Regions from separate parts of the Homo sapiens genome. Here all the other regions are linked to region 3. Evidence: promoter capture Hi-C in human tissues and cell types (Jung and others, 2019). All regions are on one chromosome and are shown on one strand. The core of a region is centred on a gene start or on the middle of the fragment in contact, and the rest is flanking DNA. Distances in the headings are between cores, read along the strand shown. Region 1 overlaps SLC37A1 (solute carrier family 37 member 1). Region 2 has its middle 36 kb from the start of ABCG1. Region 3 holds the start of TMPRSS3 (transmembrane serine protease 3).

The links. Contacts are between HindIII fragments. The study calls those that stand out against the background at their distance.
Region 1: a contact is called between a fragment that was not itself captured here and the fragment with the promoter of TMPRSS3 in region 3, in 2 of the 25 tissues and cell types used here (mesenchymal stem cells and spleen).
Region 2: a contact is called between a fragment that was not itself captured here and the fragment with the promoter of TMPRSS3 in region 3, in 2 of the 25 tissues and cell types used here (lymphoblastoid cells and mesenchymal stem cells).

What each region holds. Positions count from the first base shown.
Region 1 is chr21:42,566,024-42,568,798 of GRCh38, forward strand. SLC37A1 (solute carrier family 37 member 1) reads left to right here. Exons shown (of 20, transcript NM_001320537.2): 16 at 962-1,035; 17 at 2,337-2,415. Among named protein-coding and RNA genes, the nearest start is that of LINC01671, 48 kb to the right of the region's middle. RefSeq lists an enhancer at 1-589. The HindIII fragment of the contact is 4,706 bases long and covers 1-2,775 here.
Region 2 is chr21:42,181,369-42,184,068 of GRCh38, forward strand. No RefSeq gene overlaps it. Among named protein-coding and RNA genes, the nearest start is that of ABCG1, 36 kb to the right of the region's middle. The HindIII fragment of the contact is 4,033 bases long and covers 1-2,700 here.
Region 3 is chr21:42,394,699-42,397,460 of GRCh38, forward strand. TMPRSS3 (transmembrane serine protease 3) reads right to left here and starts at 1,354. Exons shown (of 13, transcript NM_001256317.3): 1 at 1,244-1,354; 2 at 626-770. The coding sequence starts at 719. RefSeq lists an enhancer at 1-646. The HindIII fragment of the contact is 3,128 bases long and covers 102-2,762 here.

The sequences.
Region 1 (2,775 bases), core at 231-2,730, 170 kb after region 3:
GCAAGACCATCTGGAGAGGCCGGGGTCTCCTCTCCCCAGTGCGAGGCTTGCCATTCTGTGGGTTTCACTGTGAGCTGGAAGTGTGCAAGCCTGGTCTGGGGCAGTGGCCCTGGGCACTCAGTGGAGAAGCCAGATGTGACCTTGAGGGCAGCCCCTCCTGGGGCCTTGGTGGGGCTGGCGGGGCTGCAGCAGCCTGCGACCTGCCACCTGCACCCTGCACCCCTGGTGGTGAGAGCAGCTCAGGCTGGCTCTTGGGCCACGTCAGGTAGCCAGGAACCTGGCGGTGTGACCTGAACAGGGTCCGGCCAGGAGCCAGGGCAGGTGGCCCCCCAGCCACCTCCTCCCAGCTTTGTCAGCTGCCCCTCCAGGAGCGGTTGCGTAACCTTGGAGGACTATTTTGAACACCCTGCAGGCAGCGCTATCAAACTATGCCTCCAGCACTTAGAAGTATGCTTTCTGTCCTAATGAGCCAGCAGTGGGGATGTGTGGTCCCCTTAAATGTTATCCAGAAGGCAGCTTGCCCACAGGAGAGGAAGCGGAATTTCCTGTGACCCCCCCTCAGGCCAGAAGCTTCCTCACCTGAGTGTGAGCCTAGAGGAGAGTTTAGGAAATGACCTGGTCCGGAGAGAGGGTGGGGGTCTGCCCTCAGCGAGCACCACAGCAGCTGTGGGTGAGGAGAGGAAGGCCTTTCTGCTGCAGATGAAGCAGGGGTCAGCCCAGGCCCAGGGTCCGGCCTGTGATCGCTCCCTCATGGTGGCAGCTGCTGCCCTTCGAGGGTGGATGAGCCTGAGTCTTAGGGAGGGTATGATTTGCTTTAGCTCCTCACTAGACAAGTTTAGAGGAAGCTGTTTCTGCTGCATCCCCTCCCTGTGCTCCCCAGGCGCCCACCTCAGGCTGCTCCTATGCATGCGGGGCTCTCTGGAGGGCACATTTCCATTCTTTGCCCCTCTGCCTCCCACAGCCATGCTGCTGCTCAGCGGAGCCCTGGTCAGTGGGCCCTACACACTCATCACCACCGCCGTCTCCGCCGACCTGGTGAGTAGAACCGGGAGAGACACCAGCCCTGTGGGCACCCTGCCATGTGCCATTCATGACAAAAGTGGCCTCCATTACTGTTAGTAAAACTGCATTTGCAGAAGCACGTTTTTGGCAGCTCACCTACACCTGTGGTCTCCAGCCTTCCCGCACCTGCCCCGCTGCTCACCCTTCTCCTAAAATCATGGGCAGGTTGGTGCAAAACTCACCGTTCAGCACAACAAAAGGCTCTTGGGCGCCATCCTCATGACTCAGGCGCCTTTTCAATCCAAGGGGGCAGGGGAGAGGTCCTGTCCTGGACGCCTCTGCAGAGAGAGAGGGGCCACGAAGAGGCGCTGGGGGATTCGGCCCTTCTCATCCAGGTACCATGCCCTGCCTTGGTCACCTTTGTATTGGACGTGTCCTGAAACTGCCTGAGTGTGCGTGAGCATGCAGACTTGTGTCTACATGGGCATGGAAAATTCTGGAAGGATCCACATCAGACCATTAGCAATGGTCAGCCTTCACGGGGTAGAGGCAGAGGAGAGACTTTCACTTATTTTTTAGACTTCAAAATACGTAGGTTCTGGATGATTTTCATATTGTGTGTTCTTTATTTTATATACATATTACGTGCATATACAAGCATTTATTTTTTTGAACGCTGGTTCATTTTTATAGTTTTAGGCTTCTAGGCACTGTTTCCCCTGATCTTTTTCCCCTCCTATTGTCCTCATTTTGGCTTTTTTCCCATTGTCTATGCAACATTTTCAAAACCAGAGCTCCTGGCGGCTGCTCACCGAGGACCTGCGCCAGCCTTGGTTTCTCAGCTCTCCCCTCCTCCCTTCTTCCCCTGGCGTTTGCTATTGATCAGGTTGAATTTTAGGTCCTGCAGAGACATCTGACAGGGGTCCCAGGAAGGCCCTGGCTGTCGAGGAATCCAGCAGACACGTGGATGTGTCTGGGAAGGAAGGCCGGCGCAGCTCAGGGCAGGGGCGCGCGTTGCGCACCTTCACGCCTCTCACGCTGGCTGCTCTGGGGCCTCAGGGAGGAGCAGGACTGTGCGGAACAAACGTTTTTTATTTGAAGAGAATCCTAAGAGTTCTTGTAACTAGAACCAAGCATTTCTGATGACTTTTGACTCTTAAAAACCCTTGAAGTTTTAACTCTCCAAGGCAAGCTTGGGGTGGAGTTTAAATAATGGGAAACACCCTCACGATGAGTTGTTTTGCAGAGCAGTTTGAGTAAATGGTCATACAGAGGCTTAGGTTTACTTCTCATGCTGTGGCGATAACTGCACGTCTGTTTTTCCTCTCTTCTAGGGGACTCATAAAAGTCTGAAAGGCAACGCGCACGCCCTCTCCACCGTGACGGCCATCATTGACGGGACGGGCTCTGTAGGTGCGCAGAGAGTTTTAGCTCTGGGAGGTTTGGTGTCTTAGGGGAAATCACATTGTCACATGCTCGTGAACAGGTACCCAGGGTTCCAACTGCATCTATAACATTGGGTGGGCCGGCTTCTTACTATACGAGCAGATGAGCAGGGGACATCGGCACACAGAGATGGTCACGCATGCCTGGGTGGCTTCAGAGAGACGGGCGTGTGACTAGCTGTGCGTGTCCAGGTTTTCACCCGAGGCAGTGGTTGGCAAACTACAGCCCGTGGGCTAACTCAGGTCCACTCATTATTTATCGCCTTCATCTCAAGAAAGGCAGAATCTTATTTAAATTACAGAAAAACCAATTGGTCCAAAATCATAC
Region 2 (2,700 bases), core at 42-2,541, 210 kb before region 3:
ATCTCTGTGTTAGAAGGCATTTCTGGAAATACGGAAGGCAGGGCAGGCCAGAAGTACTTGGGAATTGACATTCCTAGGAAAAGCCATGAGACAGTGAGGATGAGAGCTGGGGAAAGGCCCTCTCCTGTCTACAGACATGTTTGTTTTACTGTCCTGGTGAACTGAAGCTTTGTCATTGAGTACTGACACTCTATTTATTGCTCATGGTTTTGCCTTACATTTATTTTTCTGATATTTACATGTATTCTTTGGTTAATGTTTTCTTGCTATTTCTCTTCTCTCTTTTTAGTTTTTTATATGGAAATGTCTAAACATAAAATAGAGAGCTTCGTGTAACAAACTACAATGATGCAGCTTCAAGAATCAGCAGAAAACCAACTTTTGTATTTTAAACCTGTTTTTAAAGAACTAAGTTGGCTTTTGAATTTTCTCTCTTGGAGATGTTTTTCAAAGAACCAGACCATTCATCCATTCTACCTATGTCTGATTTCTAACTCAGGGACTTCTACTTTTACCTATATTAATTCCTTCTTTTTACTTTTTTTTGCCAGGTATAAGGTTTGTTTTAAACTTCAATTATTCTACCCTTCATTTTCAAAATTTTTAATGTGATTCTCTTTTTATATCTTTTTTCTTTGTTTAATAATTTCTTCTGCTTCTTTTACATTTGAATAATTTCTTCAGTATTTCCGCCAGAATGTCCTATAAAATTAATTCTATTTGATGTGAATGCATGCTTCTAATGTTTCCAATGCTAGTTTTGGGGATCGGTCATTTGGGCTGGAATCCAGGTCTGCTGGCCCTGGTTTTCAGATAGCTCTTCACTCAGTTATGTGACTCCATGGCATTAAAAAAGGCTTTGAAAGGCCAGGTGCAGTGGCTCACGCCTGTAATCCCAGCACTTTGGGAGGCTGAGGTGGGCAGATCACTTGAGGCCAGGAGTTCGAGACCAGCCTGGCCAACATGGTGAAATCCTGTCTCTACTAAAAATACAAAAAATTAGCTGGGCGTGGTGACACGCACATGTAGTCCCAGCTACTCAGGAGGCTGAGGCAGGAGAATTGCTTGAACCCAGGAAGTGGAGGTTGCAGTGAGCTGAGATCACTCCACTGCACTCCAAGCTGGGTGATAGAATGAGACTCCATCTCAAAAAAAAGTGGGGGGAGCTTTGAAAGCCTCACAAATTAGGCAGACAACTGTAAAAACTTAAACAAACTATTATGAAGGCTTAGTAAGGTATTCAAAGCCAGTGGATTGTTAGACGTCTCCATGTGTTTTAGAATTGTGGTTTGCAAGCTCATGTTGCATGAGAACTTGAGTTTCTGTTTTTTTGTCCCCCAACCAAGGAGCAGCTCTGGGCCCCCTCTCTGCCAGCTCCCTCCCATCCCAAGGCTCACCTGGGCCAGCCTCCTTCTCCCTAGGGGCTGGGGCTTGTCTAGCAGAGTCTCAGCACTGCCATCTGTGAAACCCATCCCCTCCCTTGCCCACAGTGTCCTTGGCCAAGGAGCCCTAGCCCAGCCCAGCCCAGCCAGCGGCAGCAGCAGCTTTTTCTCAGTCACTTTCACCAGCAGGGCTGGCCTGACCCCTGCCCTGCTTTAAGCAGGGAGCTGTCTCCATCCCCACCTCACTCCTGACCCTCCAGCACCTGCCTCCAGCCCCAGAGCCCAGCCAGCCATCCTCAGCCATGGGCATCCCAAACCTGGCTTTGGGTATGGATTTGTTCTTCTAGGTTTTATGTTTGAGGCAGCACCATGTCCCCACACCACCCTGCCTATTCGTGAAGAGGTCTGGAGAGGTGGTGTGACTGCACAGCATCAGGGACTGGTCAGCTGAGGGATGAGGGCTGGAATCCAGGCCTGCCGGCCCGACTCTCAGGGCACACATCACTCTGGCAGGGGACTTCATGACATTAAACAAATTAGGCAGACAAGTGTAAAAACATACAAACTATTCTGAGACTGCTTAGTAGATAAGCTATTCAAAGCCAATGGTTTATTAGAAGAGGGAAAAATATATGTGTGTGTGTGGTGTAAGTGTGTCTGTGCGGTGTGTGTAGTGTGTGTATGTGGTGGGGTGTGTGTGTGGTGTGTTTGTGTGGTATATGTCTGGTGTGTGGTGTGGTGTATGTATGGGAGATGTGTGGTGTGTGATGTGTGGTGTGCATGTAGTGTGTATGTAGTGTCTGTATGGTGTGTGGTCCGGTGTGTGGATGTGGTGTGTGGTGTGTGTGATGTATGGTGTGTGGTACACTGTGTGCATGTGTGTGTGTGTGGTATGGTGTGTGTGATGTATGGTGTTGTGTGTGTGTGTGTGGTATGTGGTATATGTATATGTGATATGTGTGTGGTATGTGTATGAGGTGTGTGGTTGTGTGTGTGAGGTGTGTGGTGTAGTGTGATGTGGTGTGTGTCTGAGATGTGTGGTGTGGTGTGTGTAGTGTGTGTGTTGTGTGGCATGTGTGGTGGTGTGTGTGTGAGGTGTGTGGTGTGGTGTGTGTTTATGGTGTGTGTGTGTGAGGTAGGTGTTTTGTGTTGTATGTGTTGTGTGTGGTATATGATGTGGTGTGGCACGGTATGTGTGTGAGGTGTGTGGTGTATGTGGTTTGTGTGTGTGGTGTGTGGTTTGTGTGATGTGTGTGAGGTGTGTGGTGTGGTGTGTGTCGTTTGTATGTGTGATGTGTGTGGCGTGTGTGCACACATC
Region 3 (2,762 bases), core at 104-2,603:
AATGTGTCAGGAATCTGCCTGCGTCCAAGCCCTGACTTCCAGAACCGGCAACCCCACAGCTCCCTTTGACCAGTCCTGACTATCTCTGGTCAAAAAGATCCTAGCCGTATAGGTTGCTAGAGAGTCCACTGTTTTATCAGGCATTTGTGACTTATTTACGAAACCAACTTTTTTCCTTCAGTTGTTAGGAGCCACTCCGTCATCTGCTGCTGGATTTTAATCTAGGCCTCTAATATCTTTGGCGACATCCAGTTTATCCTGAGTTTTCGGAGGGACTGGTGGCCACTGCTTCTCAGGACTTCCTGGAGGACTCAGAGATTTCCTGGCCAGGATCTGACCTCCTTCAGGATTGACAGGACAATTGTGGAGCCCCAGTCTCTGAAAACCTCCAACAAGAGAAGAAAACACCGGTCTCCAGGGAGAGAGCAAAGGGCTTAACGAAACGATCCCCTCTCCAATGCCCCTTCTCCCTGAGATTCTGCAGATCTAGGGAAGTGCAGGTGTCCAGCCTGTGGGTGTCAGAATGGCTGGGGAGATATTTCCCCCACAGGGACAGTCAGTCACATTGGTCACCTACATGAGGGTATGGGCAGAAATCACAGAGTCCTCACCTGGGTCCACTTACCTGGTGCAACAGGACTTATTTTCAAATCATCAAGGCCAAAAAGCGATCGGAATGAGAAGGGGGCTTCAACAGCAGGCGGATCATTTTCCCCCATGGTGACTATTTCAGGACCTCTGACATCCGGCTCCGCCTCCACCTCTACCTCCTTAGCCGAGGAAGAACAGAAAGCATTTGTTCCCCTATTTATACTTGTAGCATCAGGTGCATCTTGGTCATACGGTAAATCTTTGAAATTCGACAGTCCACACAAAGCGCATTCAGTATCGATTAACCAAAAACAGTCATCTGGTGAGAATGCATTTTCGTCTGAGCTACAGCAGATAACAGAAAAGCTTCTAGAATTAGCAAAAAAAAAAAAAAAAAAAAAGTATGAACTTAATTCTGCTAAGACAATGACTTTCCCATTGTTTGTCCAACCAATCTTCAAATCGATTGCTTTAGAGGGACTCCCTCTCACCATTTAGAAGTTGCCATATTGCTATTGTTCAGAAGATAAATTACTCTCAAAGCCCTTTCCATTGCTTTTTTGCGATTGTTTTCACCTGTCCCACATAAACGCAATTCTTTCCCTGTGCGTGTGGTACACCTACCATAAGCATAAGTAGTTTCGGTACTCACATAATTCCCGAGTCCCAAAAATGTAGATGGCACCACGGAAGAGATAGTAGGCCACAGTGTTACTGGCTTCCCATAAACACAGCCCTTTCCTGGCTCACACGGGCATGACCTAATTAAGAACGAAAGTACCCGAGCCGTCCGGTGCCCGGTCCTTCCCCCACATAGCAAAGTGGGGAGTGGCTTTGGACCAACGGCTTGCATCAAAATAACCCCGGGGCTGTGTTTCCTACGAAAGAATTCCACCTATCACAATGCCAAGGAGACCAGAGACCTTTCTAAGTCATTCCCTGTAACTCTGAGAGGGCGGAGGAAGCAGGGAAATAGCAGAAGATTCCCAATTAAATTCTAGTTCCCTCTCCCAGATATCAGGCATGGCTGCTCTGGGAACCTGCTTCCTCCAAGGGCTAAAATCCACAGGGGCTCCAGCAGGCACATCAGCACAGACACTCAGATCATCCGCTTTCATTCCCTTTGTGACTACCTGTTGTAACGTTTGAAATTCCAAAGGGATCTAGTAAGCCATTTGAAGCAACCCGTGTTTCCCAAGATCATAGTAAAATCTAAACAAGAGTTCTGTGCCAAAAATGTTCATTTCATTTCTATCGCAAGAAGAGCTTGAAAGAGTAACTTAGAAAAGCAAGAAGTTCATGTTGGGCCATTTTCTGGCTTTCATTCTTGCTGATACCTCTGTTTATTATCAGCATGTAGCAAATTACATCGTTTATCCATATAAAAAGAATAAGTGGGCAAATGGCTTCTGAAAGATGGAACCTGGGTGAGAACATCCCCTCCCAAACAGGCTGTGGTTGGCAAGCTGTACAACACTGAGAAGTGTTGAGAAGCATCTTCTCTCCTCACACCCATTTTACTCACCATTTCTGGAGCTGCCATCATTAAAAGCAGAAATAATTTCCTTTTTCATTATAAAAACAAGTGTGATGGTAAGCAGGCCGCCAACAGGTTAGTCCAATCGGGGAATATTTTCCCCAAGTCACTCAGCCTTGTCGACTCAATCATCGCAGCAAATGGCATTATCGCGGGCATCTGTGTAACCCAAGCTGCCGTGGGCCTATCAAATAGCCCTTGGTGGTATGGCTGCAGAGACCAGGGAGGGAAAAATGTGGCTTCCCTTTAATTAGTCAGTAAGGTGAGCAAACCTTTTCAGAAGCTTTGCATCAGGGAGTGATCGGAACACAGCCGCTCCTTTTACTTGAAAGAAGGGGTAGGCTCTGCCCAGTGCTGAGCATGTGACCGTCAAGAGGGCAGACATACTCTCTGGTGGGGGTTTCTGTCCCTCCCTGTAACTGAGCCCCCAAGTTCAATTCTGCAGCTACTCCTGCAGACAAAAGATGGGGAGCCTGAAGATGCTCATCACAGCCTGCGCTCCACAAAAGACACGTCATGTTTCCTTCCTCGGAGGCCTCTGCATCCCAAGAGGCTTCTGCACACAGCACTGCTTAAAGGGGTTTAACCGCTGCTGTGGGGACCAGAGCGCTGAGCATCTTTGAAGGGCTGAATT